Linked DNA regions of Homo sapiens: all the other regions are linked to region 1. The links are contacts of gene promoters, found by promoter capture Hi-C in blood cells and fetal thymus (Javierre and others, 2016). All regions are on one chromosome and are shown on one strand. Each heading gives the region's core, a stretch centred on a gene start or on the middle of the fragment in contact. The rest is flanking DNA. Distances are from core to core; before and after follow the strand shown.

Evidence for each region. Contacts are between HindIII fragments. The CHiCAGO score rates a contact against its expected background, and 5 or more counts as called.
Region 2: a fragment that was not itself captured here is called in contact with the fragment with the promoter of FLJ46875 in region 1 in 1 of 17 cell types (naive CD8 T cells); the score reaches 5.1 in naive CD8 T cells.
Region 3: a contact is called between a fragment that was not itself captured here and the fragment with the promoter of FLJ46875 in region 1, in 2 of 17 cell types (non-activated CD4 T cells and activated CD4 T cells). The highest score is 9.8, in non-activated CD4 T cells.
Region 4: a contact is called between a fragment that was not itself captured here and the fragment with the promoter of FLJ46875 in region 1, in 2 of 17 cell types (monocytes and M2 macrophages). The highest score is 8.6, in monocytes.
Region 5: a contact is called between a fragment that was not itself captured here and the fragment with the promoter of FLJ46875 in region 1, in 3 of 17 cell types (activated CD4 T cells, M0 macrophages and non-activated CD4 T cells). The highest score is 6.1, in activated CD4 T cells.

What each region holds. Positions count from the first base shown.
Region 1 is chr2:156,340,845-156,343,544 of GRCh38, reverse strand. FLJ46875 (a long non-coding RNA gene) reads left to right here and starts at 1,425. Exons shown (of 1, transcript NR_147695.1): 1 at 1,425-2,700. RefSeq lists enhancers at 144-203, 1,411-1,964, 1,965-2,520 and silencers at 614-1,223, 1,764-1,863. The HindIII fragment of the contact is 3,407 bases long and covers 1-2,120 here.
Region 2 is chr2:157,445,489-157,448,188 of GRCh38, reverse strand. No RefSeq gene overlaps it. Among named protein-coding and RNA genes, the nearest start is that of CYTIP, 2.8 kb to the right of the region's middle. The HindIII fragment of the contact is 5,425 bases long and covers 1-2,700 here.
Region 3 is chr2:157,892,424-157,895,123 of GRCh38, reverse strand. All of the region lies in intron 1 of LOC105373714 (a long non-coding RNA gene), which reads right to left. Among named protein-coding and RNA genes, the nearest start is that of ACVR1, 17 kb to the right of the region's middle. The HindIII fragment of the contact is 1,143 bases long and covers 723-1,865 here.
Region 4 is chr2:157,421,788-157,424,487 of GRCh38, reverse strand. The region is part of intron 6 of CYTIP (cytohesin 1 interacting protein); the gene reads left to right. Among named protein-coding and RNA genes, the nearest start is that of CYTIP, 21 kb to the left of the region's middle. The HindIII fragment of the contact is 3,981 bases long and covers 1-2,700 here.
Region 5 is chr2:157,463,450-157,466,149 of GRCh38, reverse strand. It overlaps LOC105373712 (a long non-coding RNA gene), which reads left to right. Exons shown (of 4, transcript XR_923513.3): 4 at 1,123-1,604. Among named protein-coding and RNA genes, the nearest start is that of CYTIP, 21 kb to the right of the region's middle. RefSeq lists an enhancer at 1,180-2,379. The HindIII fragment of the contact is 2,773 bases long and covers 1-2,700 here.

The sequences.
Region 1 (2,700 bases), core at 176-2,675:
AAGTCACTGCAACACCTTGCTTGCATCTGCAAATTTTTATCTATGTCTATATCAGAACCTCAGAAAACATGTTCATAGCTGAGACATTTTGCTCAAGACGAAATACAGTTTTATAGTCTATTAATTGTTGGTCCAAGAAAACAGATTACCTCCAGTTGTATGTGGGTACCTTAATGAGTAGGACAAGTGTCAGGGTGTGTGACAGAATTGCCTGAGTATGGAAGGTAGCAGTGAGAGTCTCCACAAAAATATTAATACTTTCCTATAGAGAAAGCCCCTTTTAAAGTGGGAGCCTTTATTAAAGTCCAGAGTTAAAAAGTAAGCTCTTTAACGTTGAGATTATAGACTTTTAGAAAGTTCATTTATGCCATGTTTCAGGCCTATGCTAAATTCTACGGCAAAAAGACCTGTAAATGCACCGGAGCTGACAGCCTGGGTCCTGGAACCCTTCCTCACGCTGCTACTACGGGGCACCCTTTCTATAATACAACCCCCCGAATGAAAACACTAATGCAAGCCTGGCCCCACAAAAACCTAGATAATGCTTACGTTGAAGACGACAGGTTTTTCGCTTTTGTTTTCGGTTGAGGACTTACTACCCCAAAAACACATCCGACCTGTACTAGAATAGGTGTGTGAGGGAGCGGGAAAAGCTCGGGTCATTTTAACTGGACTAGAAAGGAACACAGCGATCCCCTCACTAAACTTGTCGCCAAGTTCCCTCCTCGCCATCCCAGGGTGCGGGAAAAACCCCCTCCCGCCCCGGGGCCCCGGCAGCACTCGGGGACGCCAGCACGCCGGGCTCCTTCCCACCCGCGAACCGCGCTCCCCGCAGGGCGGGCCGGGGCGGGGAAAAAGGAGCTCGACGCGAAGGGCCGCGGGCGGCCTGGGAAGGGAGGAGGGAGACTTGGGAGGCTGCCGGGCGGTTTTATTGTTTCCTTTCGCCCTCCTCCTACCGCGCCTCCGCCCCAGCGTCACTGGAAAGCCGCCCGAGCCGCCCGGCGGCAGGTTATTTATAGCGCGGGCTGCGCGCGCGTCACGGAGCCCGGCCCGGCTGACGGGGCCGCTGACGCGCTTGGCCGCGGGGCCGAGTCCGCGGGGCTGCGCGCCGGACGCCGGCGACAATGGGCTTCTGTGTGCAGCTGCCGCAGCCGCCGGGGGCCGGGGGCCGGGGGCCGGGGGAGGGGGGCGGGCGACTCCCCGGCTCCCTTCTTGGTCGGCCGCGACCCCCCGAAAGGTAACAGGCCTCTTTCGCCCCCGGCCAGGACCTGGGCCCTGTGGGCTTTTTTTTTTTCCATTTTATCAGTAAGTTCCCCTTGTCCCAGCCTCCGCTTTCACTTCCCGCGTTCCCTCCACCCCAAAAACCGCCCCAACATGTCCAGAGAGGGGCATCTACCCAGCCGCCCAGCCAGGGGCGACCACTTTGTGAGCCCCGGGGAGCGGGACCCGTACCAGGCGCGCCCAGCGGGGGATGCGGTGACCGAGGGGCCGGGAGCGCCGGGCAGGTAACGTATCCTGGACCTAGAGTCGGGGGACTTTGTTTGGGGCGGGAGGAGCGGAACAGGGGTGGGTGTGAACGCCGGACGGCCCTTCCGGGACTCCTGTCCCCCCTCCTTCGCCCCACTCGCCTGCGCGCTGGAAGCCAATCTGGGTGTGTAGCGCGAAGAGCGAAAGAGAAACTTCTGCGTGACTGACTAGATGAGGCTCCTCCCGAGAAGCCGAGATAATAGAGGCCCCCTCTCCCGCCGCCCGCCTTTTTCTCCTCCCCCGGCCGCTCGCTCCTGTCGCCCCACCCCTCGAAGGCTGCGGACCAGCCCCCCACACTTCCCCCTACACCTCTGGCGGGTTCGCGCCGTGGACGCCCCCGCCCTGCGGGAGGAGGGGCTGGCGCGGATTTTAGGGACTTCCTGGGATGCGGAGATCGGCTCTGAACCATCCCCTTTCTGCTGCCCGGAGCTGGGGAAGCTCGCTGTGGAGCGTCTCGCACGTGGCAGGCAGGCAGAGAACTTGCTGCACCTTCTAGGAAATTGCAATCGATTTGTAATGCACTTTCGCTAATTGGGAGTTCAAAATTAAACTTTAATAAAGCATTCGTGTCGTCTCGTCTAATTGTGAAAGCTTCCATCCGTCCTGGTAGATAGACTCTAAGTCTCAAGTTAATGGCGCTAAGCTAGATTTTCCCCCCAAGTACAATTCCGTCAGCCGTCGTCGGCGCAGCTGGATTTCCGTAAGGTACAGATGTTGCTAATGACAGCTTAAGCACGGATGGGCAGATAGCATACGGAATGCAACATGTTGCCATATGGTTCCTTTAGCCTTTCACCTCCAGGGATATCAATCACATATATTCTGGGAGGAACTTAATGACTCTCTGAACAGCAAAATGAATTACCTGGTACAATTTATATCCCTTGACCTGATACGTTATAACAACAGGAAGATAGCATCTCGCAATTTCTGTGGTATAAATTGAACTACAGAGCTACATTTAAAATTCTACATCTATTTGTAGTTTAAGGGGCCCTGTCATATTCTGGCTGTAAAATCTGTTTCTGTATTGCCCATCTCCTTCCCCCTCCTACCTCTGGAGGAAGCAAAATTTATAAAGTTTAGCAAAACTGGTGTCGGAAATTGCCAGTCAACTGATTAATAGATGAAGTATGGAGAAATGGAAAATATGACTTCCAGAGCTACTTACTT
Region 2 (2,700 bases), core at 28-2,527, 1.1 Mb before region 1:
ACAGAGCAGTTTTCACAGTTAGTGGATCCTCATATATGAGAGTAACTTTACTAAATCAAATTTACCTTATATAAATTCAAAGGCACAATATTCAAATATTGTCTATATGACTTTAACACATCTCCTACATCATTCCAGAGACCCAAATAAAAACTTCCCTTCCAAATGAAGGCAAAAGGCCAAAATAAAACAAATTAGCAAACCAAACCACAACAAAACAAAATCCTGTGATGTTCCAGGAAGCCAGATAAAATCTTCTTGTGCAAATAAAGGCAAATAGCAAAAATAAAACAAACAAAAAACTCAACAGCTATCTTAAGATCAGAAAGGCATAGAGGAAGTCTCATTTTTTAAGCAACCAGTTACTCTTCTTCTGTGTCTTACAATAATCCAGAAATTTCACACATTGGCTCTGATGATGGTTTTCAAACACATCTTGATATTCGATGGTAAGGAATTCACATGTATTGTGTAGCCTTTAGACTTCTTCAGGGTGACAAGGGCATCCTTGCTGCACATAGAGGCACTTAGTAATGAATAGGGCTATTCATATAGAATTCATGTTATATCCTTTTTTAGCTTTTCCTTTTGAAGGCTTGTTACTTAAAGCAAAATTCAGTAGATATAGCTTACTTTATACCATGTGCTATTCATGGGCTATTCTGTCTATTTTTTCCTGCAAATTTTTGTTTTAGATATGTGAACACTAAAGTTTAGAGAGTGTATTAGTCAGTTCAAGCCACCATAACCAATACCATAGCATAACAAATACCATAGACTGGGTGGCTTTAAACAATAGAAATTTATTTTCTCACAGTTTTAGATGCTGGGAAGTCCAAGATTGAGGTGCTGGCAGATTCAGTTCCTGGTGAGGGATCTCTTCCTGGCTTGCAGGAGGCTGCCTTCTTGCTGTGTCCTCATATGGTGGAGAGAGAGTCCTCTGCCACCTCTTCCTATGAGGGCACTAATCTTATCAGATCTGAGCCTTACCCTTATGACTTCGTTTAACCTTAAATGATTCATTAACCTCCTTATAGGCCCTATCTCTAAATACAGACACATTGAAGCTCAGGGCTTTAATGTATGAATTTTGGGGGGATACAACTCAGTCCATAGTCTTTAAAGCAGCAGAGCTAGGACTTGAATCTAAGTAGTGTGACACTGGAACCCTGTTGTCAACCCTCTTACAGCTGCCTAAGATTTTCATGGATGATTGTAAGGTTGGCTCAGTTTGTCTTGCAAACCTTTCCACCTTTCTTTCTCTGTTCCGTGCTTTAGGTATATTCCTCTCACCTGACTCTACCAAATCTCCATGTTGTAGGCCCTCAGTGTTCATCTCATTTGTACTAAAGATTAATTCCTTCCAAGGGTATTTGCATATTTATGAACAAAATGTTCCAAATAAGAGCTTTGCCCCACATAACAAATATTAGCTTTTAGAGCATAAAGGCAGATGAGACGTATTTTTAAGAGACTCTGTCCTCATCTCTCAGATCACCCCTTAGTGAAAATTGTAGCACTTTGGAATATGGGCTTGTAGTACATACATTTCCTACCAAATTAATTTTTTTCCTTATTAATACCACAGAACACTATTGTTTAATCATTTTGTTTAATATCTACCTTTCTCTTTTTATTAACATTTATTGAACAATTTTTGTATGTAGGACATAAAGTATACATTTAAAGATAAAAGATGTTCCTTGCTTTCAAGGAAATTGGACATTAGCAGAGAAACAGATTTGTATACAATTAACTATTGCCCTAACTAGAATATATTAAGTCTCAAAAGAAGAATCTAAAAAAATGATATGACATTTCAGAGAATGAAATCAGATAATATAAAATAATTTTTATTTTATTTTATTTTTTTGTGAACAGTGAGATACTCCTGAAATCTTTTGAGTACCTAGGTAGCTTGATCCAATTCATTTCCAGAATCACCTCTCTAAAATAAATGGGAGGCTGAAGGGGAAGAGAGTCTGGTCTATTATAATTTTCCTAAGGTAAATCCTAAAAGAAAAGAGATGTTCTAAACAGTAGAACACCTTTGTAAGTCAAGGATTTGTTGTTTGGAAGTCACATTCCCCTTAAAAGATTACTGTTTCTCCACCCTTTATCACAAGGGACACTTTTGATCATGATATTAGTGACTGGCATGACACAGGCACTGACAGAACAGGGAAATGACCAATAAAAATAGACTAGGTCAAAAATTTGTAATTAACAGGTGTGACCACATTGATATGGGCTGGCTGGATGTCAGAGGTACTTTTGACCCTTGTTTTGTATCCAGGTATCCCATTATTTGAAAAATTTTACTTAACACATTTCATGAGTTAAGTAATAAGTATTTTCCAGTTTCTTAATTGAATGATGATCTATGATTTACATCAGCTTAAGGTCAGTATTACAATGAATTGGTACAATTTTAGTAGTCATTTATAAAAATGGGTGAGTCAGTTGGCCTGAGTGGGTGGCCTTATATTAAGCAAATGTATAATTTCCATTTGGCATTTTAAAATATTAAGAATAAAAATTAAAAATATTTACCTAACTTTATCAGATTCCTAGGGTACAGTGGACTGCTGTCATCCATTAATAGTGATGATTTAATTTATGTGCCTCTTAGCCTGAAAATGTTTTTAAAATCAATCTCTCTCTCTGTCTTCCTAATACACACACACACACACACACACA
Region 3 (2,700 bases), core at 45-2,544, 1.6 Mb before region 1:
ATTCAAAAAAACATTAAGAGAAAATAAAAATGAGATGGAATTTGAGTAGAAAGAAACTCGCTGGCTTTCCCCCCCACAGCCCCCTTCCTTAGTTGCTGGGATCATGACCAGAGTATTAAATTGATCAAGTTTTTACTCTCGTCTAGTTGGTTCTCTTTATGGGGTAGCGGGGAAACGTGAGAACAGTAAAACATCTCTTTAAACTGTCTGCAATAAAATAAGCACAGGGCTGAGTCATTAGTAGGAACAATGTTGCCCAATACCTGACAAAGTTTTTCCACATTTGCTTAGAATCTCTAATAAGTTACATTAATTGTCTCCTGCCTCAGGTTCCTTCTCTGTGAAAGGGATGCCTGAAGTGAATTTTAGGAATATTTAGAGACAGTGTTTTCCTGAGTGCCATAAGCCCATCTCTGTTGTATGCACTAAATAATTTTGGAAATGATACAAACATTTTTAAATTTTAATAGTAATAAATTTCTTCTAATATACATTAGGAAGAAAACTGGCAATAGCAAAATATAACCCTGATTTCACAATTATTTTTGCTTAAGAAGAGGCTAAACTGGGCATGTAAGTTTAAAAAGTGAACAAATTTAAAGAGGAATATTCAGTAAATAATAAAAGTGAATATGGCAAAACAGAGAGTACAAGAATGGGTGCTTAAAAAGCAACTATATCAAGGCAGTGGTTCTTTTATTCTTTATGTTTTGTGGAAAGCTTTATTTTATGGTGTGGGCCTCTCGTTCTAGGGTTGGATTAATCATAATCCTTGGGTCATGGCATATGCTATCATTGGTCTAGCAGGGGCTCAGAATCCTTAATGGATAGCACCCCTCTTTGAGAATCTGATGAAAGTTATGGGTTTCCCTGGAAAAATGTATATTCCCATATACAGACAAACTTACATAGAATTTCTAGGTTTTCAGGAACATTTGGAGTGCATCTGTGGGCTTCTGGAAGTTTCAGGTGCATTCAAGGTTGTGTCCACTTGCTTCTCTGCTTTCTTAAGCTCACAGGCCAGCCAGCAGCTGAGGCTTTAAGCCACACCTACTACATTTCTGCAAGGAACAGCATCTTCCCTCACTGCAGGCACCACCCAGCCTGCTGCCTGGGATCATGTAGATATTACGGAAAATATCCACCCCCCACCCACCTCCCCACTTTCGCCTTTTCAAAAACAGAGATGCTACAAAAATGTCAGTAGCCGGGACCAGTTGCTGTTTGCCCAGTTCACCTCATTATCCACTGAGATCTGCTCCTCCTCCCTTCAACGGCTTGCACCTGTGAGCACTGCTATTTCTTTCTCACTTGTCCAGAGACAGGCACCTGCCCCAAGCCAGACCAATCAGCATCTTTCCACTTCCCACATCAGAACTTGGAAAGAGAGGTACATGACATGAAACTCAGTGGGGGTGCTTGTTTGTTAATTCTGCAGAGAAGAGCACTAGGTGCAGACATGGGGTTCTATACATGCTTCTGATGATACTGATTCCTTCAGCATATGTCTTTGGAGCTGAAAAATTTTAAGTAATCACTTCCATAACTCCCACCACGATACTGCACACTGTTCTTCAAGTACTCAGTTATTTATGAGAAGGTTGGTGATAATATTAATCAGAAAGATCATGGTAATGCCTGGCATCTACTGGACCCAGGCACTGTGCCACCTCCACTGCATGCTATATGCATGCCTTCTCGCTCATGAGGCAGGTAATATTATCTACTCCACTTTACAGAAAAGGACTCTGAGGTTATGGTGTCAGAAAGTGCTAGAACCGGATGGGCATGGTGGCACGTGCCTGTAGTCCCAGCTACTCACAAGGCTGAGGTGGGTGGACTGGTTGAGCCTAGGAATTCAAGCTTTGCCTGGGAAACACAGTGAGACTCCATCTCTAAATAATAATAATAATATATACATAAATATATAAAGAAAGGTGCTAGAACTAGTATACAGACCAGGACTGCCTCGCTCCAGACCCTACAACCTTTTCTTCTTCTCAACTTTTGAATAGGTAATTTGTTCACATAGTCTTTTTTTTCTGTTCAAAATAGTGAAACATCTTGCCCTGTCCTTTCCTTCCTTCTCGTTGTTCAAAGCCCCATCCATTTCTGAGGATTTGTGTCCAATTATACTACCCAACATAGACGTATATCTCTTTTTTTATTTAAATGATAGCATATGGTAGCATACGATCTATTTTGCTGAACCTTGCAGGATTCTTTTTCCTACTTACTGCTAATTGAGGAGCTCAGTTCATATCGATACATTGAAAACAACTTTATTATTATTATTATTTTTAAAAAGCAGCTTCATAGTGTTCCATTGTAAGAATGTTTCATAATTTACTGACTCAATATCCTATTGATAGGCAGGTTGTTTTCAATCTTTTGCTTTTATATATAGTGCTGCAAAGAAAACCTCCCACATCTGTCATTTCAGAATTGGGTGAGTATATGTGTAGGAAATATTCCTAGAATGAAATTCCAAGGTCAAAGTGTATGTGAATTTATAATTTTGCAAGAGAATATAAAATTGCCTTCCACGGACCTTGTATCAACTTCCACTTTGACCACAATGTACGAGAGTAACTTGCAGTATTCTTGATGATTTCAAAGTCTTCTTCTACTCTCACATTTAGAAGTTTCATCCTCTCTAGAATGTCTTAAATTGCTTTACCAAAAAGAAAAACAAAGGGC
Region 4 (2,700 bases), core at 138-2,637, 1.1 Mb before region 1:
TCTGTTTTTTTATTGATAGATGATCTTACCATTTTTTGTTGTTTTCTTTAAAGTCTTTCTAATAAAGTTATAATTTTATGCATATAGGTCTTATACATCTTCTGTTAGACTTAGTCCTCTGTACCTTATGTTTTTTGTTCTTATTATCGTTTCTTTACAAAAACTAATGCTTTGATTGACGTTAATAGACATGTGAAATAAATTTTTCTGTGCTGTGACTATATTCAAACACTTTGCTAAATTATAGAATAGTAATATCTATTCTAATAACTCTAATGAATTATCTGTAGATTATTTTGGATTTACTGTAGAGATAATAACTATCTGTTATGAATGAGTTTTGGTTCTTTTTCTTACTTTGCTTCACAGCTTAGGCGCTACCATACAACAATGAATAGAAATTATGGTTGTAGGCATCCTTGTTTTATTCTTGATTTTAAAGGAAATTCTTCCTAATTTCTTTTCCACTAGGAATGAGCTATCTTTCAGATTAAGGAGACTCCCTTCTATACGAAGTTTGCTGGTAGTGTTTATAGTGCTTGTCCATTAAACTTTATCAAATACTTTTTTTATGCATCTGTTAAGCTGGTCTTCTCATTTATTCATTTGAAAAAATTCTGTCAATATGTGAATGAAATTTAAATATATTCTAATATAAAGCTACCATTTCATTTCTATGATAAACCCAAGCTGGCTTATTCTTGAAATTTATAATTTGTAAATGTAATTACAGGTTCGATTTGCTAATATTGTATTTAGGATTTTGAAAGAGTTTCATTTTTCAGGTAGACTGGCCTGTAATTTTATTTTCTTAGATTATCTTTTTAAGTTTTGGTATCAAGTTTACTAGACTCTTAGCATGACCTGGGGACTGTTTTCCTCTTCTTATTTTCTGGCAGAATTTTAATAATACCATCTGAATCATTTTGTTTTAGGATTCTTTTTTGATGGGAATACTGTTAATGTACTGTTTCAATTACTTTATTAGTTGTGAGACTACTCAGGATTTCTGGTTTTTTTTAAAGACAGTTTTAGCGACTTATGTTTTTGTTAACAAAGTTTTTAAATTTATTAACTGAGTTGACAGTAAAATATTATTCTGATGTTTTAAATTTTTGTCAAAAATTGAGTGTGCCCCCATTTTTTTCTTGCAGTTTGTACCACTTTTTATGCTTCTTTTTTTTTCTTGATAACTCTTTCTCTACGGGATTTTCTATTTTTGGATCTTCTAGAAAACCAGTATTTGTGGCCATCTTTAATCCTTTTTCTGGTTGCTTTAAGATATTCTTTTGTCCTTATTGATCTACGGTTTTACTACAATGCAATTAGTTCTGGATTCATTTCTAAATTTATACCGTGTAGATCTTATAGTGCTCTTTCTGTTTAAAGACTTTCTTTAGCTTTGGAAAACTATCAACTCAATCTTTTTGGAATATACCTTCTACACCACTCTTGTATTATCTTCTGGAATTCATGTTAGGCATAGTTTCTTGATTTATCTTTCATGCTTCCTAATGACTATTTCATAGGTCTTTATTTATATTTTTGTGTTATATTCTTTCTGAATTCTTTAGTAACATCTCCAGAAATGTTCTTGCTAGCTGTTCTGTACAGAATGTGTTATTTCTATTGAGTTATAAAAATTACTTTCTTATTATCTTGTAGTTCTTTTTCATGTCTATCTGTTCTTGTTTTGTCATTTCAAATTTCTTGTTCTTATAAACATTGATCTCTCAGAGGATTATATCTCTCAGAGGATTATAAAAATTCTTATTTTAAAGTCTTTTTTGGACACTTTTCTTTTTTTTTTTTTTTTTGAGACAGAGTTTCGCCCTTGTCACCCAGGCTGGAGTGCAGTGGCATGATCTCGGCTCACTGCAACCTCCACCTCCCGGGTTCAAGGGATTCTCCTGCCTCAGCCTCCTGAGTAGCTGGGATTACAGGCACCTGCCACCACGCCTGGCTAACTTTTTGTATTTTTAGTAGAGACAGGATTTTCACCATGTTGGGCAGGCTGGTCGCGAACTCCTGCCCTCAGGTGATCCGCTCGCTTAGGCCTCCCAAAGTGCTGGGATTACAGGTGTGAGTCACCGCACCTGGCCTTGAACACTTTTCTATTTTCATTTTGTTTAGAGACAATCTATGCACAAATTATCAATTTTATTATCTTTTTTATCATTAAACATCTGTGTTTGGAGGTTTAGATTGCCTACTTCTCTTGCATGGCATATAGCCTCTCCCTTCAGCACAATGTGATAACTGGATGCTTGCCCCCACTTGGCACTTCAAGGCTATCAATCCAGAGCCAGGTCTGGGGGCTTCCGTGCCTTTCCTGAAGACTCAGTGAGCTGTTTGGCTCAGGTCACGAGGCTGTGTTTAGGTATTCCTGCCTTTCAACATACAAGCTCTACATGAGCCATAGCCAGCAGCATCAGCTTTTCTCAGCCTCCTTTCCCAGTGATGGAGCTTCAGCCAATGTTTTTTTCTTAAGCGGAAAACCTGTCTCAGACCTGTGTTTCAGATAGGTGTATTTAAACCATATATTGCCATAGAATTTATTTCTGCTTCTCCATATCCAGAAGACTTTAAGTTTCATTCTGTTTTCTATCTTGCATGTCTGTCCTGTTTCTAATCTTGAAATTATGAGATTCCGTTTAACTCTTGAGCCAAAAATGTCTTGGTCTGACCCATAGCCAAGGT
Region 5 (2,700 bases), core at 132-2,631, 1.1 Mb before region 1:
GACTATTTTTAAGATGGTGGCACTAATTGAACTGGTCTTCAGCTTTCTTCCTTCCAATTATCTTATAAGCCACTGTCTTATCAATTTTCCTAAAATCCCCATTTAGTAACGTATGCCTTTACTCAGAAAGATTGGCGATTCCTTTTTGATAACTGAATCAAGTTCAGTGTATTCATTACACCAATGAGGTGCTCGGTAGTTCTGTCTTACGCAGCTGCCCACATTCCTGCCATACCAGCTTTGTCGCCAATCTCTGATAGCTCTCCCAGTTTTCTCCTCTTGATGACTCTCCTTCTCATTCACATGTGAAATGCTGGTTCTTCCCTGGTACCATTTCTGACTTGAAATTGTGCTGATTCTCTAAATTTGTCTTTCACCTTCAAAGGCAACCTCGGCTCCCTTCTGAAGAGGAGATGAATTTCTCTGTTGTGTCCTTTGAATGGCTTTGTGCTGTTTTCTGTCTTGTACTCTGTAGAGGTGGGCATGTTGAGTTATTTTGCTAGACTCAAGGCTCGTGCAGGGCAGAAGCTAGGCTTTGCTCACTTCAGCATCACGTTCTCCCACACTTAGAGCCAGACATGTTGTAGGCCTTTGCTAAATGCTGTTGATTTGAACAGAATATTCGCAGATTCTCTCCAGGAAATGGTTGAGTTTAATCTAGACCATCAACTCAAGTTTTTGTGTCTATAAAATGTGTAAAGCAAATATGATAAGAAAGTAGGTATGATTAATTTGATGTCAAGTTACTCTGATCATATTTCCTAAATCAAGACATCAAAACGTGATTTCATAAAGGATGTTTAAAACCTATAATTGACAAAGGACAATAGGACAGTTTCCTCCAAATTGGATATATTAAATTTGATTCCTTTTATATGTTAGCACATAACAACTAATGACTCTTATAGCTGCAAAAATATATAGTAGTGCCAATGGTTGTTTACTCAATATGCTGTCATGGGAAGACTTTAAATATTTTGGTATATGTATCTTTTTAGTTTTTTAAAGAAAGCATACTTACATTTGCCTTTATAAAAACTTGTATAAATGTAAGGGGTACAAGTGCAGTTTTGTTACATGGTATATATATCTTATGCCTTTATTTTCCTCATCTCTTTTTAGAAGTGAGCTCTATCACATGGTACGTTTATGAGAAGAGGAACCAGCAATGTTTCCTTCCATCTTCAACTATACTAACAAGATCCATCTGATGTGTAAGCTAGTCTGGGAATTAGGGGCACAGAAAATTGCATATTAAAGTCATACAACGTTGTTTTTTAAGAAAAGCTCTTTCTGTGATTTGTTGCTCCAAATCTTTCTTCTCTTGTATTAAAAACTATAATGTTGAGAAATGATTCTCTTTGCACCTGGTAACAATATTTTAGTAAGCCTCTTTTCAGTTTTGAATAGTTTGTCATTTTTCCATGAGTACCTTCAGGTCATACATATACTTGGCTTTTAAATTTTTTTTTGGAATGCTATTGTAATGGGCCTGCTGTTCAGTCCCACCACACACTTAGCTACTTCTTTTGGGTGCTTGGGTGCAGATTTTCCTTTGAAGCCAGTCGGAGCTACATGCACAGATGAAACGTGTGGCAGGAAGGGGACATTTCCCACCTTCTCCTCTCTTGGGCCCTTTCATCTCTGTGTGGTGATGTTTTCCACTCCTCCGTAGATAAGAATCTTTTTGTAAATTTCCCATATTTAACACCAAGACTAAATGCTGTTAAGCAACATCAGTCATTCTCACCACATCCACTGAGATTAAAAGTGAGTCAGACAATTAGGTTACTCTGGCAGGAACTGTGGCCCCACAAACTGATTTTTGATAGTGTCTTCCAGCATGTTCTCTACTGCAAATGCTAGGATTCAGGCTAGGGCAATTTCCATTTTGCCTCCCCCTTTAAAAAAAAAGAGAGAGAGAATGAGATATATATTTTAATCTATTCTGGATACTTTCTCTGCTTTTTTAGGGCCAGATGGATGCTCAATGATACCGCTCAGTTCTTACGTGTGGTCACTGGATTTCATCTAACCCTCTTCCCCAGAGGTCTTGCTTAACACTGAAAAACTAAAAACTTAAGAAGAAGACTATCTTCCCCTCCGCCCGCCCCACAAAATGGAATCTTGCTCTGTCACCCAGGCTGGAGTGCAGTGGTGCGATCTTGGCTCACTGCAGCCTCCGCCTCCCGGGTTGAAGCAATTCTTCTGCCTCAGCCTCCCAAGTAGCTGGGATTACAGGCATGCACCACCACGCCCAGCTAAATTTTGTATTTTTAGTAGAGACAGGGTTTTGCCATGTTGGCCAGGCTGGTCTTGACCTCGTGATCGGCCTGCCCCGGCCTCCCAAAGTGCTGGGATTACAGGCATGAGCCACCGTGTCTGGCCCAGAAGAAGACTATCTACAAATTCCCTTGACAATCCATAGCAATAATGAATGGTCTTTCCTTTCAGGAAAGTGCCACCTTAAGTGATTGCTTGAAGAGAAATAACCAGTTGGTTCTTCTCTGAGGGTCTGAAGAGTGCCAGGTCTGCCATGTCCTGCACTCCTTTAGATCATCAGAAGACTTCACAGGCCAGTCCTCGTGCTGACCTGACCATTCCAGACCCTGTAACTGAGGTCTTAGCTTCTTCTTGGTTTCTTTCTCAGAATTATCTTCCAGATCTCTACAACCTAGGAAAGGCTAAAACTGAGGCTTT